Linked DNA regions of Homo sapiens: regions 1, 2 and 4 are each linked to region 3. Evidence: promoter capture Hi-C in human tissues and cell types (Jung and others, 2019). All regions are on one chromosome and are shown on one strand. Each heading gives the region's core, a stretch centred on a gene start or on the middle of the fragment in contact. The rest is flanking DNA. Distances are from core to core; before and after follow the strand shown.

The links. Contacts are between HindIII fragments. The study calls those that stand out against the background at their distance.
Region 1: a fragment that was not itself captured here is called in contact with the fragment with the promoter of OPN1SW in region 3 in 1 of the 25 tissues and cell types used here (mesendoderm cells).
Region 2: a contact is called between a fragment that was not itself captured here and the fragment with the promoter of OPN1SW in region 3, in 3 of the 25 tissues and cell types used here (bladder, mesenchymal stem cells and thymus).
Region 4: a fragment that was not itself captured here is called in contact with the fragment with the promoter of OPN1SW in region 3 in 2 of the 25 tissues and cell types used here (IMR-90 fibroblasts and mesenchymal stem cells).

Annotation. Positions count from the first base shown.
Region 1 is chr7:128,731,217-128,737,314 of GRCh38, forward strand. It overlaps GARIN1B (golgi associated RAB2 interactor 1B), which reads left to right. Exons shown (of 7, transcript NM_001282788.3): 7 at 1-527. Among named protein-coding and RNA genes, the nearest start is that of CALU, 5.1 kb to the right of the region's middle. The HindIII fragment of the contact is 5,550 bases long and covers 433-5,982 here.
Region 2 is chr7:128,816,310-128,822,960 of GRCh38, forward strand. CCDC136 (coiled-coil domain containing 136) reads left to right here. Exons shown (of 18, transcript NM_022742.5): 17 at 1,449-1,555; 18 at 5,490-5,821. The coding sequence ends at 1,550. Among named protein-coding and RNA genes, the nearest start is that of FLNC, 11 kb to the right of the region's middle. The HindIII fragment of the contact is 4,770 bases long and covers 418-5,187 here.
Region 3 is chr7:128,773,207-128,779,803 of GRCh38, forward strand. OPN1SW (opsin 1, short wave sensitive) reads right to left here and starts at 2,588. Exons shown (of 5, transcript NM_001385125.1): 1 at 2,233-2,588; 2 at 1,780-1,948; 3 at 1,292-1,457; 4 at 443-682. The coding sequence starts at 2,575. It overlaps CALU (calumenin), which reads left to right. Exons shown (of 7, transcript NM_001219.5): 7 at 1-194. RefSeq lists cis regulatory regions at 2,574-3,141, 2,582-3,576, 2,585-6,597, 2,585-6,384, 2,585-3,684 and 1 more. The HindIII fragment of the contact is 13,114 bases long and covers 1-6,597 here.
Region 4 is chr7:128,712,284-128,718,348 of GRCh38, forward strand. GARIN1B (golgi associated RAB2 interactor 1B) reads left to right here and starts at 3,108. Exons shown (of 7, transcript NM_001282788.3): 1 at 3,108-3,407; 2 at 4,530-4,714. The coding sequence starts at 3,159. The HindIII fragment of the contact is 6,852 bases long and covers 738-6,065 here.

The sequences.
Region 1 (6,098 bases), core at 1,958-4,457, 41 kb before region 3:
CAACCAAGGAAGAATAGAGTCATCTCACGGTGACAGCAGAGCCTTTCCAGCTGTACATAACCACGTCCTCGCCACTGCACCTCGGCATATGCCACCTCCATGCCACTGCCAGAGCTGGCCTAGCAAGATGTGCTCTCAGAATGGCCGGGCCCAAGAGATGAAGGAAAGGAGTGAAAGGGAAGTAGGACCAGAGAAGTGGAAGGAAGCAAAATGGAGGTGATGAGAAAGGTGGTGGGAGAAAGTCAGCAGATGAGAGACACAAAGAGAAGTGGTAATAGGAAACGGAAGAGACTTGGTAGACGAGATAAGGAGGACAAGAGAAGGGACACACCCCTGAGAGATGCTCACCAAGCTTCTATTTATCTAATTTAAAACTTGAAAGTAAAGCCATAAACAAAAAAAAGAAATGTTTTCTTCCCTGCTCAGACCATTCTGGACAAATGTGAACTGCCAGACACCTTCCATTTCCCTTTCTATCTGTTTTTCTTGCTAGTTCCTGTCTTCTGATTAAAGCTTCATTCCTTCTTTGTTGGCCTGTTCCCTAACTTGGACTTGCTAGCCCTGTTGTTCCTAATAGAGGTTTGGGTTTGAGCTGCAGAAAGGTTCTTATAGGAGGTAGTAAGACAAGGTGTGTAAGGTAGGGCGAATTTCTCTTTTGTGTTCAAATTCCCTAAGTTTGCTATTATCTCCGTGCCGCAAACACTGGCTCAACTTCTTTTTTGTATAACACTCCCTTGAAATGTCGACATACCTTGTTAGTGCTTTTTAAATTAGAGATTCCAGAGATAGGAGATATAGGCTCAACATACAGGTTAATCAGAGGTTTACCAATTATAGATGAAGGGAGTCATGAAGGAGTGTTTGTCAGATGGTCTATGGACTGGCCTCTTTGTTTAAAATGTGCAATAGTGTCAGGAGCAGTAGCTCGTGCCTGTAATCCCAACGCTTTGGGAGGCTGAGGCAGGTGAACCACTTGAGCCCAGAAGTTTGAGACCAGCCTGCGAAACATGGCGAAAACCCATCTCTGCCAAAAATACAAAAAAATTAGCCAGGAGTGGTGGTGTGTGCCTGTAGTCCCAGCTACCAGGCAGGCTGAGATGGGAGGATTGCTTGAGCCCAGGAGGTCGAGGCTGCAGTGAGCAATGAGTGTGCCACTGCACTTCAGCCTGGGTGACAGAGTGAGATCCTGTCTCAAAAAAAGAAAAATTTCACATTTAATGAGAAACAGACTATGAGTATTTCAGGAAAGCTGTCCATCCCCCAGCTGGGGAGGGTATTTTGATTTGACTTAAGATATCCTAGCAGCATCTTTTTCCTCACTTAACTAGTTTTCAGCCTGAAATTGTTAGAAGGCTAAAAAATAAGCTCCTGGATCACCATTACTCAAAGGCTGAGTTATGTCCTAATTCTTAGTGATTTCAGCATCCACATGGATGATCCTTCCCATACTTTGATCTCTGTTCCCTGAACTCCTGCCTTCCAGCAATGCTTTTTCCACCCTCCTCGACCACTGTCTCCCTTGATTTTACCCTAGTGTTTGTCATTAATAACTGCACCTAACCCCATTATTTCCACTCCCTAGCTATAACACCTCCTATTTTTTCCTGAGTCCAATAATCCATTGACCCACCAATCCTACAATCTATTGCTTCTACCAGGTTTTCACTGTTCCTCGCTCTCTTCATGTTCTCATTTCCTTCCCCTGTAACCTAGATTATCTGTGATCAGTCATTATTATTATCACTTCCTGGCATGCATTCTCAACATCTTTGTGACTCTCTCACTTTCTTCCCTTGGCTAAATTCAGTTCTCTACCAGCTCCATGCCTGTGTGATGCTGCTGAACTTGCCACTGAACCTCTCTGGAGAAGATCACATGACATACTAACCAGTCTCCCTGCAAAGTCATCATCATGGCCTCAAGGGGGTCCTTGATGTTGCCTGGAAATCATCATGTGTTCTCCTAAATCTGTTCACTCTGCTGAATGGCTATTTCACACCTCTCTCCTCTAACTGCCAATGCCTCCTCCTGATGACCCTGCTTCCTATTTCACTGAGAACATAGTCAGAATTGAAAGAGAATTTCAGGCTCTCACCACCATATCTACCAATTACCTAGATCCAGACCCATTGACTCTAGCTTCTCTCTTTGTTACTATGGAGGAACTGTCTCTCCAAGCAGAGTCCAGCTCTTCCCCTTTTGTAGTAGATCCCATTCCATCTCACCCAAATATGTCACACCAGCAACTTTTCCTTTTTCCTACGTCATCAGTTTGATCTCTACTTCCAGATCCTTCCCATCAGCAACGAACATACTGGCATGCCTCCTAAACATACTTATTTCTTACAATAAAAACAGAACAAAATAAAACAAAACCTCTCTTGGCCCCTCTGCCTCCTTGCTCCAGTTTTCTCCACCCCTTTACAGAAAACTCCATGAAAGGGAACCAACTTTTAAAAATCTCCATTGTCTCTTGAAGTCCTTCAACCAGGTTTTTGCATTCACTACCTTGACAAACCTGTCAAAGATTCCCACACTGCTAAAGCCCATGGCCAACTGGGCCCCACCTCACTGTCAGCAGCATGCTTTCTCCCTGAACCTTTTCTTCACTTGGCTTCCAGGACACTCTCCTGGCTTTCCTTCTCCCTCATTGACCTTTTTCTCAGTTCCTTTGCTGATTCATTCTCATCAACACCCCCCAATCATATCTGAACATCAGAAATTCCCAGGATTCAGTCCTTAAGTCTCTTGTAATCAAAACACACAGATTTCATGCCACAAATATACTCGTAAATTTATATATTTAGTCCAGACCACCATGTACTCGAGATACATATCCAACTGCCTAGTCGATATCTCTACTTGAATGTCTAATATGTATCTCAACATGCCCAAAACAAATCTCTCAATATTATCCCTCAAATTAGCTGGGTGTGGTGGTGCATGCCTGTAATCCCAGCTACTCGGGAGGCTGAGCCAGGAGAATCACTAGAACCCAGGAGGCAGAGGTTGCAGTGAGCTGAGATCACACCACTGTACTACAGCCTGGGCGACAGAGCGAGACTCTGTCTCAGAAAAAAAAAAAAATTATCCCTCAAAACTTTGTTCTCTCTAAAGTCTTCTCCATCCTAATAAGCAGAAGCCTCATTTTTCTACTTGCTCAAAACCCTGGAGTCATCCTTAACTCCTCTCTTTCTCTCCACCCTATTTCCAACCCATTAGGAAATCCTTTCAAACTACTTTCAAAATATATTCAGAATTTGATATTCTCACTACTTCCACTGCTACCAACCTGGACCAAACCATCATCATCACTCACCTGGATTGTTGCAAACACCTCCTAAATGCACTCCGTTCCTAACCTTACTCCCTTTCAGTCTAATGTGATCCTTTAAAAATCTTAGATCATGTTTCTTCTCTGCTCAAAACCTTCCAATGGTTTCCCTTCTGTATTAGTTAAGGCAATGCTAGCTCTGAAAGAGATAAATCCTAATATATCAATGGCATAAAATAGCTAATAGAAGTTCTACTTCTCATTCACAAAGAGTCCAAAAATGGTGTTCCTGGTTCAAAAACTGAGTGGCAGTTTCACAGGAACCTGGGCTTCTTCCATCTTGTGGCTCTGCCATCTGCAATACACAGCTTCTAGCCACAGAAAGAGAATGAGCTTGGAGAATTACACATGGCAGGTCTGTATGGCCAGTACTGGAAGTAGTGTACAACATCTCCACCCTCCTTCCTTCAGTCAGAGCTCAGTCATATGACCATACTGGAAGGGAGGCTGGGAAATGTAGTCTAGCTGGGTTCACAGAAAGAAGAAGAAACAATTTAGCAAATAGTCAGTCTTCATATCCTCTCACTCATCATAGCGAAAGCTAAAGTCCTTGCAATAGCCTAAAGGCCCTACATGGTGTCCCTCTCTCCCTCCCTCATTCCTGTTGCTCCCTCTCTGACCTCATGTCCTCTACTCTCCTTGCTACTGTACTGCAGTCCCACTGGCTTCCAGTTGCTCCTCAAACACTTCAAACATACTCCCAACTCAGGGCCTTGCCTTGGTGTTCCCTTTTCCTGGAATGTTCACCACCTTCAGATGTTCACTCACGTGTCACCCTCTCATGAGCTTCCCTGGCCACCTTTTCTGAGATGGCAACGCCACTCCTGATAGTCCCAACACTCACTGTTCTCCTTTCCTGCCTTATTTTTCTCCTTATGTAAGCAGACAGAGAGGGTCTGTATTAGTCCATTCTTGTATTGCTATAAAGAAATACCTGAGACTGGGTAATTTACAAAGAAAAGAGATTTAATTGGCTCAGAGTTCTGCAGCTGTACAGGAAGCACAGTGGCTTCTGCTTCTTGGGAGGCCTCAGGGAAATTATGGCGGAAGGCAATGGGGAAGCAGATACGTCTTGCATGGCTGGAGCAGGAGGAAGGGGCGGGGGAGGTGCCACAGACTTTAAATGAACAGATCTCATTAGAAATCACTCACTATACAGTACCAAGCGGGGATGGTGCTAAACCATTCATGAGAACTCCGCCCCATGATCCATTCACCTCCCACCAGGCCCCTCCTCCAATACTAGGGTTTACAACACAGATCCAAACCATATCAGGGTCTCCAGGGATAAAAGGAATTCAATCAACTCGAGCAATCAGCCTGTTTTACAGCCTTCTGCCCTGCAGCCTGTTCTTCCCCAAACCCTGCATGGAATGTGGTCACCTTGTTGGTTTGAACCAGCTCCTTGCAGACCCTGGCAATTTATAGATGAACTGAGTCAACTTTTCCCTTGACCATGCCAAAGTCTCCACCCTAGGAGGAGCTATAGCTTCGTTGCCATAACATGCCACCTATGTTCTGGCATAATGACTCACTCGTTTGTGCCACTGGGACCCCTCCTCTACATGTGATTTTGCACTCTCTCCATCACCCTGTAAAACCCTCCTGTCACTTTCCCCTGGGGAGACACTGCTTTAGAGAACATTCCCAGTATCCTTCTTACATATGCCAAGTAATAAAACTGCTATTGATCACAAACTGCGTTTTGCATTGTTTGTTACTCACTAAGCGAACAAACCCTGGTTTTTCAGGTAACAGCACCTGTCACCACCTCTCATTCTATGTATGTTGCTTTTTTGTCTTGTTTATGGGCTGTCTCACCTACCTCTACACACCAGAGTATAAGCACCGTGACAGACTTAATTTTGTTCACTGTTGTATCCCCAGTTCCTAGAACAGTGTCTGCACACAGGAAACATTGAAAGTTCAGTAGCACCCATGAGCAGAGATGGGAAGCTTGGAGATGAATGTCAGCCTTTTATGGTGACACCATCATGCCGGCCCCAAGCAGTCCTTCAGTGCTGCTCTCACTCGATGGCCTCGGGTGCAGCTATTGGCGGCATTTCTAATATGTGTTGTCCCTCAGGTCCTTTTCTTCCTTCCTCCACCTACTTTCTAACTCTGGGGCTCCCATGAGGCCTAATCTGCTTTCGTCTCCTCAAAAAGTTTATCTGTTCTCATGGCTCCATCAGCCATCTGCTAGCCAACAACCCCTCCCAAATATCTCCTCCAGGCTCTTGGCTCTTTCTCTTTGGCTATTCCGCCATCACATAGACTTCCTATGTCTTGAACTCAATTGACTTCCCTCATTCCATGCACCTAGCTCATTCTCCTAGTCTCCCATGATTAAACCTTTTAACTTTTGAGTGCTCCTTCTTCATTTCTTTCATTCGAGTGGTCACTAAGCTCAGGACTTATTTCCACTTTTAAAATCTCTCTTGTGGCTGGGCACCGTGGCTCATGCCTGTAATCCCAGCACTTTGGGAGGCCGAGGCAGGCGGATCACTAGAGGTCAGGAGTTCGACATTGGCCTGACCAACATGGTGAAACCTTGTCTCTACTAAAAATACAAAAATTAGCCAGGCGTGGTGGCACATGCCTGTAATCCCAGTTACTTGGGAGGCTGAGGCAGGAGAATCACTTGAACCTAGGAGGCGGAGGTGCAGTGAGCCAAGGTCGCACCATTGCACTACAGCCTGGGCGACAAAAGCAAAACTCCATCTCAAAAAAAAAGAAAAACAAAACAAAACAAACAAACAAAAAA
Region 2 (6,651 bases), core at 1,553-4,052, 43 kb after region 3:
TTCTGTCGGTCTGGGCAAGTCACTCAGTCCAGTTTTCCTATGGTGCCCTGTTAGGTTTAACCTTTGTTGTTGCTGTTAGGGGTGTGTCAGGGGATAATCTCTTCTTTGTAGGCTCATGTTGCCCCCTGGATTCTGTATATCACAGGACATGAAGGTGGGGCCTGGAAGTGATCAAGAGTGATAGTGAAAATATTTCACATCTGTACAGTAGGAGCATAGACTAGTCCAAGGAGACCATCCCTAGCCTTAACCCTTCAGTTGCTAGATCATTGAGAGGTTGGGGTGGAGGTATCCTGGGATATATATGCCAGAATGCCAGAGGTAACTTACCAACAATATAGAAGTACTTCCATATTTTAATAACTGGTACGTCTCTGCAGGTATGTAGCAACTGAATTCTTGCCCTGGACTTAACTCAGGGCTCAGAGTCCCTACAGAGTTAGAGTATTTCCTGTGTAAGTCCTCAGCTTACATTACAGGTTCTTTCTGTTCTAAACAGAGGTAAAGAAAAAAAGCCTCTTGTGGTGGGATTATCCAGTCAACTCTGAGGATATCTGGAATTTCCAGCAATTTGGTCTTCAGCACTGGCTAAGGATCCAGTGTGCAGTGCTCTGCTTACCTTGTGCCAGGGGACCATTACCTAAGATGTGGAAAGTCGGAACCACTGCAGCCCCTCCCACTATCATGTTTCCTTGAGCTCATCATATTCCACCACGTGCTGGTTCAGAGCCTCACAGATGTCTTTACCTTCGGTGCCACATTTCTAAAGCTAGACCTGATTTTTCTACTTCAAATATATTCTATGTTTCTATATATGGAGAGATCCCTTTGCCCCGTGGGTCCTGCGTCTTTTGCAGGCAGCTCTAGGGCATGTGTATTACCACCTTGCAAAATCGGTTTCTCTCTGGAAGATTGTTGCAGTGAAAGAACTAGCCCTTCTCCATTGTCAGTTTGTTTCGGTGCATGTTGTCTTACAATGATATCATTAGATTCCTAGGGGATCTAAGGGACCAGAGCCCAAAATACTAAGAAACTTAATGGAAAGCAGGCTAGAACAAAGGGACAGGTGACCTGGTAGAAGACTGGCTCTTCCTAGAGTGACCTAGGAAAAGTCACAAGAAAGGTCTAGATGCAGATACCTCCTGCTTGACAGGATATGAGAGGTATGTGACGAGACAGAAAGAAAACTGGACTCACCGCCTGACTTGGACCTAGCTGCTGCTTAACCCATTCAATTTTGCAATTCCTGCAGACTGCCGGTGGAAAGAACCAAGGCCCAGGCAGCAGAAAAGACATGCAACTGCTCTAGCTTACCTGTTTTTTAACCTCTTGATTCCTTTCTCTTTTCCCTTTGTTTTCTCATCTTCATTATCTGTTGGATCCATGCGTTTATGTCTCACATCTCCTGGTCTCTCCTCGTGCTTCTTTCTCATTTTGGTGTGTTGCAGTCATCCCCTACCCCCAATCCCCCCATCTTCTCCTTGCCTCTTGTAGGCCTGGTGGTCATCTCGGCTTTGCTCTGGTGCTGGTGGGCTGAGACGTCGTCCTAATGCAGGTACTGGTATTGCTTCCTCTCCTTCTGAGGGATAGAGGGAGGGTGCAGGTTGCCCTGGCCTCTCCTCTTTCCCTTTTCTCCCAGCTGCTTGCTTCTTGCTTGTGCCATTTTATAATAGGTGATGCTCAGGTCTGAGTTTTAGTTCTGACTTTTCCTTGGGCTACTGCAAAGCCTCTGACATCTCTGAGCATGTCTTCGTAATGCATAGGAGGTTGGAATGCTTGCCAGAGACATGGTTTGTTTCAATCCTTGGCTGGGAAAAACTTGGATAAGCCCAGCTTGGTTGCTGCTGTCAAAGCTGCCTCACTACTTCTTTATCCCCGCTCATCCTCTGTGTGATGGCTAGCCTGACCACTTCTGATGAGCTGATATTTGCAAGGCTGGCCTGGACTCTCTTTGTCTTGGTTTAACTCCGGAGCCAAGTTCTCACTACTGTTGCTACCCAAGATGGCAAAATAAGGAATCCCTCTTCTGTTGGGAGAGAGAGGAGCTCTGAAGAGCTCTGATCCTCATGATCCTCCCAGGGGCATTGGTAGGAGGGCAACCTAAGCTGGTCCATCAAGCTTGGTGAAATGGAACCGAACCCCTACTGTATTCTGCTCTTTCTACTGAACAGTTCTCTGCTTCTGGACTTCCAGTCTCCGGAAAAGTCAGAACAGAATGCCGGGAAATTTTATTAGTTATCTATTTATCTATTTTGTGGGCCAGATTCCATGGTAATTGGCTTCCCCAGCTAGGTTTTCTGGAGAGAATGAGGTATTAGTGAAAAGTTTCTACTAGCCAGAGATGTGTGTTCTCAGGAAATCAAGACTGATATATTCTGGCCACTTTCCTGTCAGCTCCCACACATGTAATGTACACTGTCAACAGGATACCAAATTCAGGAGGCAGAATGTGGTCTTACGGCCTAAGGTAGAAGCCTGGGGTTCCACCTGCCTTCTGGAACCCATAAGGTATTCTCTCTAGTCCTGCATTGGCTCCTCTCTCATGCTTTCCCTGCCTCCCCCTCCACTCCCCTCTCTTCTCACATTCCTGTGAACGGAATGTAGCTTAATGCACAGGGTGGCAACTGGAGGATTTGTTGGTGGCACTTCTCTCCATTTCCTTTTCTGTCCTTCCTCCTGCTCCCTCCCCAGCTTTCCTGTTACTCATCTTCAAGCCTCCACTTTTCTTCTTGACTTTAGGTATTCCCTTTACTCCCTGGTCCACAACTGCTTTAGTGACGGGGCCCCTCTCTATGACTGTTTCTCCCCTGTCACCCCCCAGAAGTCTTAAGGCACTACGGGTGAAACCCAAAGAGTTCAGCCACAGCCTTCCACTACCTCAGACCCAGCCCGGCCCAATCAGAGGGAGAGGAAGAACTGCTGGTGAAGGGTTCTCCTGGTGGGGCCTGTTATCCCCAGAGCTCCAGGAGGCCCCAACATGCACCTGTGCAGCCAGGACCTGAGGGAGCACAGTGTGGTAGAAAGCGTGGCTGCCAGGCGGTCAGAAGAACTTGGTTGAGTCTGTCTCTACTGACAGGCGTTGTCCCAGGGAGCAAAATGCACACTCTGAGCTCTAGTTTCTTCAAATGTAAGCAAAGGATGATCGAACCTCTGCCCTCCTCACAGGTTTTTGTCAGGACCAGATGGGTTGAAGTAGATGAAAGTATTCTATAAATTATAAAATACCCCATCATTAATAAAAAGAGCACGCACTTACAAAATGCAGTCTTATGTGTCAGGCACTGTTCTAATCACTTACGTATATTAACTGATTTAATCCTTGCAACAACCCCATGAAGAAGCTACTCCTATTTTTTTTTATATATGATTAAACTAAGGCATAGAGAAGTTAAGTAAAACAGCCAGGAAGCTGCGAGTCAGATTATAAGGACTCAATATTAGCAACAAATAAGATTCCAGTCTTGCTTCCCTTTATTGTCTCTCCTCATTTTGAGCAGTTTCTCTTCATTGGTCCCAAGTAGGAAGACACCATACTTGTGTTTAGGCAACCTCAGATCACATTAGCTCTTTAGGTAACTAATATATTATTTATTTATTTCATGTATTTTTTATAAGCCCCTCTGCAGATTGTGTATGCTAAGCGTCCTCTCCCCATTCTGTACCTGCATTTGATTTTGAGGCTTCAAAGGCAGAATTTTCCATTCTTCCCTATTATAGTTCATTGTTCTTACCTTATAAGGTTTTGTGTGTATGTGTTTTTAATCTTGACCCTGTGGTTTTAAAATATTCACTTCCTCTGCCACCTTCACATCATCTACAGGGGTGGCAAGCCCTCCTTCCCTGTCTTCATCTACAGAGGACAGAGTGAGGACAGAGCCTCTAGAGTGTCGTCTCTTGGGGTTCTTTTATTCAGCTCATTGGTCACTTACCTGCCATTCAACAAACTGTACTGTCATCCTACCCTTATTTCTGCATATTATCTGCAAAGATCATAGAAAATTCTGTCAAACAACTCAACGTCCAAAAACATGATTCCGGTGATTTGTCACTTAGGTCACCTAGTTTAAAAGGAGAGTTTGACACGACTTCCCCTTTGGGACACCCACACCAGCCCTTTCCCCATCCCATGTAGAAGCTTGCCTTTGCCCAGTGTGAGGTGCACGGGTCACATTTAAGGATTTCAGCTCCTCCCTCCTTTAAGAACACCAGACTAACATTCTTAGCAATGCACATTAGGATAGAGGCATCTGAGCATATAAATATTTTTTTCTAGCTAGCTCCCTTCTTAGTTTTTGTTTTTGGTTTTAGAGACAGGGTCTCGCTCTGTCACCGAGGCTAGAGTGCAGCGGCATGATCATGGCTCACTGTAACTTTGAACTCCCGGTCTCAAGCGATCCTCCTCCCTCAGCCTCCGGATCTCTTGGTTTTCTTACATGAGTTACTCTGTATATCCACCTGTAACATTGCTTGGCTTTCCATTTCATACCTTCTGTTGTTCTTAGTAGCTATTTCTATAAGCTCAGGAGATTTTCTTTGCTCTTTAGCAGGCTTAAAGTCCTCTTTTTAGATCAATTATCATCTGAGAAAATGTGTTCTTAGCATTAATGGGCTATATTCCATTTTTACTTGAAACCATCCTTCTGTTACCTATGCCATAGCTTATGACTCAAAATCCAAATTCTACCTTTCAGTTAGTAGAGTAAAAAAGTAATAAAAATAAAACCTATTTCCCCAAGTATGTATTTTCTTGTCTAAGATTTTCATATTACCTAATGGATGCTTTTTGGATATCTTCGATGGTGCCACTTGTCCCATGAATCAGCAGGGTTCCCTAGTGGCCGGCAGTGTCTGGAAGCCTCAGCATACTCTAGCACATGCACCAGGAAGTCAGTCAACATACCTGGTGATTAGGAGTGTTCTAATGACCTAGGCCCAGTGACAGGTTTCCTTAAATTTCCTTGAACCAATGTCATTCTCTGTCAAAGTTTGTCTGCCTAAGAACCTCCTACTTACCTGCACTCCGTGGTGCACTTTCTTCATTTCCCCTCAGCCTTATTCCCCCTTCCCCATCCTCTTGACTCTGAGTTCACTTCACTGCAGTGAAACTAATGAGGTGCTGCTGCTTTTCTCAAAGCCCCAGATTTCCCCTCCTCTTTCTTGCCATGGCATCCAGTCCTTTCTCATTGCAACCACTTGGAAGTCTGGCCCCTGAGCCTGCTTCTTCACATGGGAGCTAGTATTCTCAGCCCATGGGGAGAAACGGAGGCCTGAATACAGGCGGTCACCTAAGGTGGTGCGTACAGTGTTGGGCCACATGTCTAGTGGTGCCAGGACTGAGAGATCACTTACCTCCACCGGTTACCCAGGAGGTAACAGAGACTGATCCACAATGTTCCTGAGGTGTCTTGGGCACCCATAGGCAGGTGACTTCTGGCTTAGGGCAGGGTTCAGGAGGCTGGGCACTCACAGTTTCTCTTTGGTCCCCACAGAACATGTTTGGGTTGTGGAAGCCTATGGTATTCTTGGCTATTGCAGCTGTGGCTCTGTATGTGTTACCCAACATGCGACAGCAGGAGTCAGAGTTCTGCCTCATGGAGTGATGGCAGACCTTGGCCAGCGCGAGGGCAGATCCCCAGTGGCCACCACCCTCAGCTTTGGGCAGGACACACTGTGCCAGAACCCTCCCCATATGTTCCATGTGTCCCCATCTCCTCAGCCTCAGTCACCCAGGCTGAAAAGGCTTGTGGGGAGCGGCTGACTTCCATCTCCTGCCTTGTGTAAGAACCTGAGTTCCTTGTAATTAAATATCAACTGAATTACATGAGACTGTGGATTTTTATTTGCTAAATGCCTCACAACACAACCAGAACAGAGCAGTCCCCCTTTAACCAAGTACCTCACATAAGGGTCTGACTCCTAAATGCGGCTTCTCACCTTGCAGATGGCCTCAGAAATGAGGCTAGCCCCTTGTGCTGTCGACTGACTCACAGAGGGGTTAGTCTGTGCTTATTAACCCCATCCTGAGGTGCTCTCCTGAGCATGGAGAAATGGAGTGACTGAGGGCTGGGGAGACCTCCCCTAAGGTTCTGTGCCCACACCTATCTACATGAGAAGGCCGCCCTAAGAAGATCCACGTGTGTGCCTTCGTGACTTAGCCTTTGTGACTTCTCAAGGGATTCGCCCTCAGAGATGACTTTAATCAGCCAGGGTCCTGGCAGTAAACAGGTGGCACACTCAAAGCTTTACATGAAGAGAGTTTAATGAAGAGACTATGTACCAAAGGCAGAGTTAGGAGAAGCAACAAAAAATAGTGAAGTACCAGGCACTAGCAACAGTGTAAAGCTGTTAGCATCCCAGGCTGAAGCAGGAAGGAAAGGAAGCAAGAGCTGGAGCTCTGAAAATGGGCCCCAGGCAGGAGTGGCAGCCACATGGGGTGCAGCCCCCGCCAGAGCCGTGAGGAAGTGGGATATATATTCCCCTACCTTCTCCTCCCACCTGCCAGTATTCTACTGGTACCTTATCAGCTGAACTCAATGGGAAGACAAAGCGCAGAGGTGCCCAGGTGATGTAATCTTTCAAGCTCAGCCTCCTGGAGCTTAGAGCAGGACAGAGGCCTGAAGATGGATCTAATTGGGACAAGTAGAATGATGA
Region 3 (6,597 bases), core at 1,338-3,837:
GTTGGAAGGGAAATGATTAAGAAATTATTAAATGCAAGGACTGAAAATTGAGAGGAATCTGAGTTTTTATTTTTATTTTTTTAATTTTATTTAAGTTCCAGGATACATGTGCAGGATGTGCAGGTTTGTTACATAGGTAAACGTGTGCCATGGTGGTTTGCTGCACGAGTTTTTCAATAAAATGCTTTCATTCATCCTGTTCTTTGGAGCAACTTCATTTTCCTGACTCAAGTTCTTTCCTCCGGGGTTCTATTTTCTCGTCTTGATAACCGTGCCTTCCTCCCTGTGCTTACCAAAGGCTTCCCAACCTACTCGGGGGTTTTGTGGCTTCCCTCGTCTACTAGAAACCTGGGTAGAGTCCAGGGTGCTCTGAGTTAAAAGTCAATGGTGAGAAAAGAACCAGGGTCTTCTGGACCATAGGAATGTGAATAAAGAGCTTTACCTGCTTATTCATGAAGCAGTAGATGATGGGATTGTAGATGCAAGCACTCTTGGAGAAGAATGAAGGAATGGTGACAAGCCGTAAGTCCAGCCCATGGTTACGGTTGTTGACCATGTACATGGCGAAGGCCGCGTAGGGCACGTAGCAGACACAGAAGGATCCTACCATCACAACCACCATGCGGCTCACCTCCCGTTCAGCCTTCTGGGTCGTAGCTGACTCCTGCTGCTGAGCTGCAACCTGGGGTGGAGCACGGAAAGCATCACATCTCTCTTTTTCCTGGCCCTCTGGATGCTTTTTTTTTTTTTTTTTAATTTTTAATTTTTAATTTTCTTTTTGAGACCGAGTCTCGCTCTGTTGCCCAGGCTGGAGTTGCAGTGGTGCAGTCTCGGCTCACTGAACCTCCACCTCCCGGGTTCAAGTGATTCTTTTGTCTCAGCCTCCTGAGTAGCTGGGGTTACAAGCACACACCACCATGCCCAGCTAATTTTCGCATTTTAGCATTTTGCCATGTAGGCCAGGCTGGTCTGGAACTATTGACCTCAGGTGATCCGTCTGCTTCGGCCTCCCAAAGTGCTGGGATTATAGGCGTGAGCCACTGCGCCCGGTCTCTGGATGCTTTTCTGTGGGATGGGGGAGGGGGCATCCACTCTGATTGCCTCTTTTCTGTCCCATCTCCTGGCCTAGTTCCTTTGGATCTCCATCATTCTCCCTCCTCCTACTTCCTTTGCTGCTTTTAGATACCCTCTCTGGCTATGGACATTTCCAGGCATCTTATGTTTCAGAGCACTCTTCCTTCTCATGTGGAGCCCCGAACCCCTTCTTCCCTGACTATCAAATGCCACTCACAGCTTTCAGGGCCCTCAGCAGCTGAGTGTAGGAGAAGCAGATGAGGGAGAGAGGCACAATGAAGCAGAAGATGAAGAGGAACCACGTATAGGACTCGCTGCGGTATTTGGTGCCCACGGTGTACCAGTCAGGGCCACAGGAACACTGCAGGCCCTCAGGGATGAACCTGCAAAGGACCAAACACTTGCTCACTGGACTCTCCACAAGAGTGCAGTGGGAGCTGAGATGCCTGGATTGTGTTCTCCACTTAGAACCCACGGAATGCCCTAAGGCTTCAAGCAGGGGGGTTTTCTGTCCTGACTGGGAGAAGCTACAGCAATTCCAACTGCAGAGTAAACGTTAGCACTTGTCTCCCACTGCCCTTTCGCCTCATATTGCAACTCTTTAAAAGTAGAGGTCAAAGACTAAATAGTTATACCCAAGCTCTCTTTCCACCCACATCAACCTGAGCTCCTAGTTAACTCAGCACCACTGCCCTGCACTCTCACCGGCTCCAGCCAAAGAAGGGTGGGATGGAGACGCCAATACCAATGGTCCAGGTAGCCAGGACCACCGTCAGTGCATGCTTGGAGCTGAAGCGGAAGTTGCCGAAGGGCTTACAGATGACAATGTAGCGCTCAAAGGCCAGGAAGGCCAGTGACCATCCTGTAACCAGACCTGTGGTGAAATGTGAGGATAATGGGCTAGACAGAGCCCCACCCAGCCTGGCTGGCAGAGTGGCAAACAGATCGGGTGGAGCAAGCACAGAGAGACAGGGCTGGACTGACATTTGGAGTGAAGACTCAAACATCCTATTTTAGCCAAACTTCTAGTCTGGGTTGCTTTGTACCCCAGTATTTTAAAAAGCACCAGACTCATTTCCCCCAGACTCCTCTTTAGGAACCCCCTCCAGTGGAGTAGCAACCTTTGCCTTCCCCTAACCCCTTTTTCCCCTGCAGTACCTGCTACAGTGCCCAGGAAGCCCTCCAAAGCACAAACATGGCGACCGAAGACGAAGTATCCGTTACAGCTGGCGACGAAGACAGGGAAGACAGAGAAGATGCAGAGGAGGAAGCCTCCGAAGGACACGTTGACCAGAATGTAGTTGAGGGGCTGCCGCAACTTTTTGTAGCGCAGTGTGGCCACCAGCACCATGGCATTGAGTGGGAACCCTATAAGGAAGACAGTGCCCATGAAAGCTGCCTGGAGGTAGAAGGCCCAGACAGGGGCAATGTGGTACTGAGGCCCATCCCACGGCCCCACTGAAGAGATATTTTTGAACAGATAAAACTCTTCCTCCGACATTTTTCTCATGGATGCCCCACACCCCCCTCTGAGTCCTCTTATAGGTGATCCTCCCACCCCACAAAACCCCTCCTCTAAAAACACTTGGGCTCTGTGAATGATCAATACTAATCCTAAACCTCCCAAGGACAAAGTTTGGGATTAGAAATCCCTAAACCACTACCTAAACCTTTTGTGGCCCCAAAGCCGATTGTGTTCTTCAGAGGATAAGAGATTGGGCTCAAATAATCTGGATATGCAATGCTGGGTGCTGGGATGAACAGAAGTGGACTCCCTGAGGTCTGGGAGGTGCTGACCCATATTCACTGAAGATGCTTCCACTTTTTTGTTCTTTTAATGGGGCTATAGAAAGGGCACGCCTCTTATTTTGGCTTCTGGCACAACTGTATCAGTTAAGTTTTCCTCAACTCATCTGCCCCTTTGTGGAAGGTGCCCATCTTAAGTCTGCTGAGAGGCTAGGAACCAGCCCTGGGCTGCAGGAAAGGGCTGGGAGTGGGGAGTGCCCTGGAAGCACATCAGTAAACAGCCTTGATGGAACAGGACTTAGGCAACTTGACAATGCCTAGAGGTCTAGGGCATCCCTGAGCCAGGCTGCCTCCATTTCTTTGTGTTGAATCTACTCAAAGAGTGTGCCTTTCCTACTCAGACCTCCAGCCAGGGAGGTGGGTCTGTTCACTGTCCTTACGCCATGTTCATGCCTACCCCTACCCTTAGCTCAACAAGTCGCCACAGTCTTCCTCCTGTCTGTTCATTGAAGTCTTATCTAGCCCTCACAGCCTACCTCACAAACACCTCTTCTGTGCAGCCCACCCCAGTGACACCAACTCTGCTTTAAGTTCCACCTGCACTTGTACTCAGTACTACACTTTAGGCTTTATGAATGAATCTTTTCCACCTCAGCAGATCATAAATATATAGATGAGTTGGCCGGGCGTGGTGGCTCAAGCCTGTAATCCCAGCACTTTGGGAGGCTGAGATGGGTGGATCACAAGGTCAGGAGATCGAGACCATCCTGGCTAACGGTGAAACCCCGTCTCTACTAAAAATACAAAAAATTAGCTGGGTGTGGTGGTGGGCGCCTGTAGTCCCAGCTACTTGGGAGGCTGAGGCAGGAGAATGGCGTGAACCCGGGAGGCGGAGCCTGCAGTGAGCCGAGATCACGCCACTGCACTCCAGCCTGTGGGACAGAGCGAGACTATATATATAGATGAGTTAAAAGTGACACACTTTAGGTATAAGTAAGTTTAAAAGTGAAAGGATGGTCCAGTAATGGCAGAATAGTTTATTAGATGAATGCCCCCTTAGGCAAAAAAATTGTAAACTGGACACAATATGAAAAACAACTTTTTGAAAACACCTAAAGTATCCAAAGCAGGCAGAAACTGAAAGGAACTCAACTCTTCAATGAAAAGAACCATCTACATTGTTGTTTTTTTTTTTCCCTGAGTGTACTCCCGAGTATAAATGGCACAGGATAGCTAGAACTTGAGCAGAAAGCCCCAGCCTTTTTTGGCTTGAAGAGTCAGAGGACAGAGGACAGGAGACAGAGGACAGTTTGGGACTCCAGAACAGCTGAAGGTGGATTTCCTGGAATGAAAGAAGCCACAGAAGGCAAAGTCTTTAAATCTGCATATAAACTCCCCTCAAATCATAGGCTGACTGCTGAACTGTGGATGGAGGAATTTCCAAGAGCCCAGTAAAAGACAACCACTGGAGGTCTGAAAGAGCTAAGCAGATTTTGACTGTTACCCACTGTAGCAGAGAAAGAGTTTGAATTTGAATCCCAAGTCAGAGGGTCTGGGTAAACACTTAGGGCTTTCTACTTGAAACTCCCAAAAGGCCACACCATAGAGCTAAAATCTATATCCCAGGACTAAATATTTGTTCTGAGAGTAAGGTCAAAGCCAAAGCTGACTCATACTAGCAAAAGATAAAACCAAGCCTCAGCGGGTTCAAGGTGATCAACTAGTAAGTTAATTGCTTATTAGAACAAAAATCAACACCCCTCAATGGAAGATAACCCAGTTTCTAAAGTTCACTATCTACAATGTCTAATATACAATGAAAAATTAAAAGGCGTGTGAAAGAAAAAAAAAACCCACAGGAAAATATGAGTCATAGCCAAAAGAAAAAGCAAGCAATAGAAACAGAACCTGAGATGACCCAAGAAGTTGGCACCAGCAGGAAAAACTTCAAACAGCGATATAAATATATTCAAGAACTGGAAGGAAAAAAATGATCATCGTGAGTTAATGGATCTCAGCAGAAGAATGGGAAAAATAAAATAGCCAAATGGAAATTCCAGAACTGAAAACTACAACATGTCAAATGAAGAATTTACTAGATGGCTGAACAGCAGATTGGACAGCAGAAGAAAGGATCAGTGAACTTACAGATAGATCAATAACAAAAAGATATCTGGAAAATCCCCCAAACACTTATGAATAAGCAATATACATCTAAATATCCTGTGAGTCAAAAGAGAAATCATAAGGAAAAACTGAAAGAATTTCAGCTGAATAACAACAAAAAAGTATTAGAAATTGAAGGAGTCAGCTAAAGCAGTACTTAGAGAAAAATTTATAGCTTTAAGTATTTATACTAGACAATAAATGTTTAAAATTTAAACTTTCACCTTGAGAAGCTGAAAGGGTGAATCAAATCTAAAATAAATAGGGGCAGATACTAAAAAGCAGAGCAGAAAACATTGAAATTAAAAATGAATAAAGAATGGAGAAAAATCAATGAAACCTGAAGCAAAACAAAATAGTTCTCTCCTGTCTCCAGCATCTCCTCAGTAGGATCTGAGCCAATCTCAGGTCACTGCAACCTCCATCTCCTGGGTTCAAGTGATTCTCTTGCCTCAGTCTCCCATGTAGCTGGGATTACAGGTCTGTGCCACCATGCCCAGCTAATTTTTGCATTTTTAGTAGAGACAGGGTTTCACCATTTTGGCCAGGCTGTTCTCAAACTCCTGACCTCAGGTGATCTGACCACCTCGGCCTCCCGAAGTGCTGGGATTACAGGCATGAGCCACTGTGCCCAGCTGACTTAATTATTTCCGAAAGACCGCCACTCTCATGTGCATGCGCACACATGCACATCCCACACAAACACTCGGCCGCAGGTGGGAGTCCTGGTGGAGGTTACTGGGGAGAGCCAGCTAAGGGTCCAGTCAGATTGCCTGAGTCATGGGGGGAACAGGGTGGGAGGGCACTGTCTGGGAAGGTGTGAGGACAGTATTAGGAGGGGCCAAAGATGTGGCCACCTAGCCTTGTACAGATGAGCAGAGCTGCTCATCCGTTGCCCTGGGCAGGACTTCAGGACCAGGGCCAGAGGTCACCTTAAGGTGCCTATCCCTGAGCAGGGCACATGGACTGTGTGTGAGCCTGGCCTGCGTGGAACAAGCCAGCCTCCACTGTCCGCTGGGCTCTGCTGAGGTGCCCACCTCTGCAAACATTTCTGATGGGAGGCTAAATGGCGAGGGTGCAAGACACCCCGGGCCCTTTTACATCCAGTGTACAAGGCTAGGTGGCCACATCTTTGGCCCCTCCTAATACTGTCCTCACGCCTTCCCAGACAGTGCCCTCCCACCCTGTTCCCCCAACAGCAGAGGGAGACAATGGGCCCAAGCTGGAGGCAACCCAATCCCTGAGGGGCTCAGACCAAAAAGAGCCTCACCCAAGCGCAAAGTCTTACCGGTGCTCAAGCCATGGACAAAAATTCTCCAAAGTCATGGAGGCCACGGAGTAGGAGGAGGCAAGCTTCTGAGGAAGGGGCATGGGGTAAAGGAGGAAGAGAAAATAGAAAAACTGGAGGCAGACTGGGCACGGTGGCTCACACCTGTAATCCCACCACTTTTGGAGGCCAAGGTGGGCAGATCACTTGAGGTCAGGTGTTCACCAACCTGGCCAACATGGTGAAACCCTGTCTCTACCAAAAAATACAAAAATTTGCTGGGCATGGTGGCGCACTCCTGTATAGTCCCAGCTATTTGGGAGGCTGAGGTAGGAGAATCGCTT
Region 4 (6,065 bases), core at 2,914-5,413, 59 kb before region 3:
TTAAGTTCTAGCATATTTTCACTGTGGTAAAATACACACAACATAAAATGTACCATTTTAACCATTTTAGGTATGCAGTTCAGTGGCATGAAGTACATTCTCACTGTTTTGCAACCATCACCACCATCCATCTCCAGAACTTTTTCATCTTCCCTAACTGAAACTCTGCACCCATTAAACAATAACTCCCTATGACCCCCTCCATCCAGTCTTTTTATTTTTAAGAGTTTCCAAAATTGTATAAACTCTTGGCTTCACAAAACCTGGGTCCAGCCCCAACTGACAACCAGATGTCCTGGTAATTCCTGTGCAAGCTACGAAATGATACCTTGCACTGCCAAAGTGGCTTTAGCCTCAAACCAAAGGACAGTCAGCATGGTTGAGGCTGTCACCAAAGTTTTCATCACTAAAAGTGCAAACAGTAGTGATTGTGGCAGCATCAATATTACTGAATACACAAGGAGGAAAAAGCAATGTTTTCTCAAGTTATTGGAACCTACATCTATATAACTTTCCCCAGAAGCTACAAGTTTGTAATTTCTACAGTCCTAATTTCCTGTAAATTAACCCTATTTTCTTCACTGCTTAAAGTTATTGGTAAATAATTTTACATCTCCTTTTCCAGAAGGTAGTCACATGGTCTTACCTAGCTGCAAGGGAGGCCAGGAAATGTAATCTTTCTTACAGGAGACCTGTGCCCAACTAATGATCAAGTATTCTATTACTAAAAAATCAGAATGGGCCGGGCATGGTGGCTCAGGCCTGTAATCCAGCACTTTGGGAGGTCAAGGCGGTTGGATTACTTAGGGCCAGGAGTTCGAGACCAGCCTTTAGTAGAGATGGTGAAACCCCATCTCTACTAAAAATACAAAAATTAGCCAGGCATGGTGCTGCACGTTTGTAATCCCAGTTACTCGGGAGGCTGAGGCAGGAGAATTGCTTGAACTCGGGACATGGAGGTTGCAGTGAGCCAAGACTGTGCCACTGCACTCCAGCCTGGGCCACAGAGTGAGACCTTATTTCAAAAAGAAAAAAAAGAAAGAAACAGAATGGGTGTTGGGACAGACAACTAATAGACAACTAAGTATCTGTCACATGGTTTCTAAAAAGATTCAATATGCTTGTTTTTGAGGTTTGCAGGGGAAGTAGGAAGGGGTGCACATCATTTTTTTGTTTAATAGAGACAGGATCTCATTCTCTCGTGCAGGCTTGAGTGCAGTGGCAAGATCACAGCTCACTGTAGCCTTGAACTCCTGTCCTAGAGTGATCCTCCCAGGAGCCTAGGCTTCCCAAAGCACTAGAATTACAGATGTGAGCCACCTTAAAGCACCATTTACAAAACTGCTTAGCATCTTGTTTAGAGCTAAAAAATCCTTTGCTCACAATCAGCTTTCTAGACTGGGCACCCAAGCCTTCTTCCTCTGAGGGTTGAACACCATAGAAGTGGGCTTAACAGACTTGTATGGAAAAGAGAAGAAGTCATCTCCCCAACTGACTCTTGGATGTCTCAGTGGCCAAGTATACTCAAATTGTATATCTAAACCAATGAGCTTTATTGTTGTGGTTAAGCTTTAACTGTGAACAGCAACGTATCAATTTATTAATTACTACGCTTTTGTGCTGTGTGTTCCCTTTCTAGGTTATTTCCAGGGAAATGCAAACCAAAGGATGTGGTCTCTGATCTAATCCTTAGAGAATGTGACCATGAAGACACTTTTCCTACCTGGTAAACAAAAGATAATGAGAAAAGTGAGGTTGGAAGTTGGTTTACTGAGCCAGGAGCTATAACAGGTGCTGGAGCAGGGGTGTGATCTGAATGACCAGAGGGAAGGACTGATGGAATTGGATGGTGAGAGCCTCCAGGCCCTTTAGGCTTCTCCCTGACTTTATAATGAAATACAAAAGTCAGCCTCCATGCTTGTCCTTTGTGTGTAATGATTGTCAAACTCTGTCTATATGTGTTACATTTGACCTTGATGGTTAATTCATTATGTAATAAGTTCAGAATTTGGGACAGACACAGTGGCTCATGCCTGTAATCCCAGCACTTTGGGAGGTCGAGGTGGGCGGATCATCTGAGGTCAGGAGTTCGAGACCAGCCTGACCAACATGGAGAAACCCTGTCTCTACTAAAAATACAAAAAATTAGCCAGGCGTGATGGCACATGCCTGTAATCCCAGCTACTCGGGAGGCTGAGGCAGGAGAATCGCTTGAACTCGGGAGGCAGAGGTTGTGGTGAGCCGAGATCGCGCACATTGTACTCCAGCCTGAGCAACAAGAGCGAGACTCCATCTCAAAAAAAAAAAAAATTTAGAATTTGGTCCAAATTAGAAAACAGTTTCTCCCAGGAATGGCCTTGAATAGTGGTCAGCCTGCTTGGTTCTTTCTTCCTGACCTAGCAGCCCATGATTTGGGCTCTTTCCTCCTCTGGTTCAGGGGTGAGGGATGCTGTCACTCTCCAAGAGGGGGAACAGCTTGGGACCTAGCAGAGCTGCTCATCGGGGTTCTATTCCTCCCAGCCAGCGCCCTGACAAAGCCAGCCTCTGGATAAGAAACTAATTACTTCTCCTGCTTCTTCAGTTTGACCTCCTAAGGGAAGTAAGTCCTGCAGAAGTAACCAGCCTGCCGCGGCAGAATGCAGAGCAGGCACCAACTGCCCTGCAACTGCTTCCATAACCTGCAGATCCACCAGGGTGTCGGGGGCCCACATGCTGCAAAGCTTAGGAAGATGGGGTTTTCAATGGACATGCAGCTTTTAAAGTTGTGTGAGATAGGTTGCATTCAGAGTAAGGAAGGGTTGAAAGGCAGGAAGGGCATTTTCCTCTTAGCAGTGGAAGGATCTTCCTGACAGCCCTCCTTGCTTGCTTTCTGCCTGGCTCACTGCTTTCTCAGCAAGTTCCGGGAGGACTATGTCCTGGGGTTCCGAAAAGGGCTGGGGAATGTCCAGGCACGGATAAGGCACACAAGCTCTCTGGAGGAAAAGGGAGGCTCCTTTGCACTTCCCCTTCCTGCAGGTCTGTCCTGGTTTTTCATGATGTCATCCATTCATCATTGTGAGCTGACTGGTGGTCCCAGGGCTTGGCCAGCTGCCCAAGGCCAGGAGGGGAGACAGAGATCCCAGGACAAATGTGCAGCAGGCCCCTGAGCATGTGTAGAAATGTTGTCATCATTTCCACATAGAAAGACTTGGAGGAAATCAAAGAAGACAGTAAAAGTCACAAGATCCTATCCAACCTTCCCTTCCCTGAATGCCTGGGAAGAATTCAGGGGCCTCTTGCCTGTGGATGGAGAGCCGAACCCTGGAGCGGGCCTAGGTGTGGAGGAGGGACTGCTCTGCCGGGTGGTTCATTCTCCAGAATTCAACCTGTTTCTTGACTCCGTGGTGTTTGAAAGCAACTTCATCCAGGTATTCTTGGGTGGCGCAGAATAGCACTCTTTGATTCTTCGAAACCTGTTCCCAAGATATGACTGAGAGAGTCCATCCCTGAAACTGGGGCAGAGTGAGAATTGAGGCAAGGAGAAGCTAGTGGACCTGGAATGCAAGGCCACCCTCACTGACCTGGGCTTTGCTGAGCCCCAGACGGGGCTTCTCCTACAGACAGCTGTCACCCAGGGAGAAAGGTCAGGGGTCCTCTGCTCTGAGTGGAGAATTTGGTATCTAATCCCCCAGTTTACTTCAGCCCCCAGGCTGTCACCTGAAGTAGATGAACAAAGAGGCAGTAAAAAGAGACGCTTCTTGAGAACAATAATGCGGATTGGCGAAAGAACAGCACCTGGGGTCCCAGAGACAGCTGGGCTCAGATTCCAGTCCTCTGCCTTCTCCTTGGGAGGTGACTGTGCAAGTAACCTGTGCAGCCTGAATCTGGCCCCTTGATTGTAAAAGGGTTGAACTGACCTGAGGATGAAATGCAAATACAGCAAGAAAAGTACCTTGTCTAACAGGCACTCGGTGCACGTTCGTCTCCTTGCCTGGGCTCTCCTCTGGTTGGATGGAAGCGAGAATGAACAGCACTTTGGAGTTAGAGAGGACCTTCCTGTTCAGTGAAGGTGCAGGAGATAATAGGGCACCTCGGGGAAGGACCAAGAGGATACATTTTTCAAAGAAGGCCAGGAAACAGTCCAGGGAGGATTGGCAGAAATGACAGATGGCAGGGAACTCCTGGGTTGTAATTCCTGTGGGCAATTGTTAACAAATGGGTGGTTGAAATATTGTTTAAATACTAGTAGTTGTTTAATCAATATAGTGGCTATCAACAAGAATTGATTTTTGGCCCCAACTGCCAGGGAACATTTGACGATGTCTGGAGACATTTTTTATTGTCACGATTTGGCTGGTAGTGCTACTAGAACTAGTAGGTAGAGGTCAAGGATGCTACTAAGCATTCTTTAGTGTGCAGGGCAGTATCCTACCCTCAACAAAGAATATCCAACCCAAAACATTAATAGTGTCGAGGTTGAGAAACCCTGGGCTGAAACAGACTGCAGCTTTTGCCAAATGCTCAGGTTGTGCCTGGGGGCTGTGTTGCAGGTCAAAAGGGGCAGGAATTGGAGAGACGTCTACAAAGCTTCCAACACCATGGCCCTGGGGGTGACCTCCTCGGTACCCTGCCTGCCCCTCCCCAACATCCTACTCATGGCCAGTGTCAAATGGCACCAGGGGCAGAACCAGACATGGAACAGACCATCCATAGCCCCCAACATCTTCCTGAAGAGGTGAGCAATGCAGATGAGAATGGAGGACAAGAGGGGTGAGGGGTGGATGCAAAGTGGAGGTTGCTTGACTACTAAACTCAAGGAGAAGATAGAGATGTCATCAGCAGTGACATTGATTTTTTTAGACAACAGAGTATCCTAAGACAGGTGTTGCACTGGAAGGACAGAGGCCAAGTGGGACAAAGGGAGATGTCATGTGGACAGGAGTCAGGGGCTAGTCTACCTGCCCACTTTCTTTCTCGCTGCACAGACGCCACTGAATTCATAGGAAATCTCTCAGCATTGGGCCCAAGGGCAAGGAGGCAGTGAGTCTGGCAGATGGAGCACTGGTTGGGGAAAGGAGATTATTTCTAGTTCTTGGTGTACAACTAACTGGACTCAATTTTTAAAATCACAAGTTATTTGCTGCTCCTCAGTTTTCTTTGTCTTTTTCTTTTTCTTTCTTTCTTTTTTTTTTTTTTTGAGACTGAGTCTCAAAAAAGACTATCGCCCAGGCTGGAGTACAATGGTGGGATCTTGGCTCACTGCAACCTCTGCCTCACAGGTTTAAGTGATTCTCCTGCCTCAGCCTCCCGAGTAGCTGGGATTATAGGTGCCTGCCACCACACCTGGATAATTTTTGTATTTTTAATAGAGACAGGGTTTCACCATGTTGGCCAGGCTGGTCTTGAACTCCTGACCTCAGGTGACCCACCCTCCTCAGCCTCCCAAAGTGCTGGGATTACGGGCGTGAGCCACTGTGCCCGGCCAGGTTTTTTTTGTTTTTTTTTTTTAATCAGTAAAATAAATGGGACTAAGTCTCACTTAGAGCTGTAGCATATAGTGACATCATGCTTGTCTGGGACGAAGTAGCCTTTTTAAATTTTGGGGCCTCTTTAAATAATCTGTAGGATATCTCAAGAATCTCTAGAAATTCCCAAAAGTCCAAGAAAACCCTTCATTTCTCCATGCTACCTCAGTGACACACCTCTCCATGATGTTCTTGGTGTACCTCTAGCAAGTACCACCCAGTCCCAGCTGACTAATATTAGATCCAAAGCCAGATCCTTGAACTTTAACTCCCTTGGGAAGACTAACTGTGGCATTAAACTCAATAAATGCACAAGCCAGACAGTGGGGCAAGCTCCTTTGGTGCTTTCAAGAAAGAAATTTTGGCTGGGCGCGGTGGCTCGTGCCTGTAATCCCAGCACTTTGGGAGGCAGAGGCAGGTGGATCGCCTAAGGTCAGGAGTTCGAGACCAGCCTGACCAACATGATGAAACCTCGTCTCTACCAAAAATAAAAAATTAGACGGGCCTGGTGGCACATGCCTGTAATCCCAGCTACTGAGGAGGCTAGGGCAGGAGAATCGC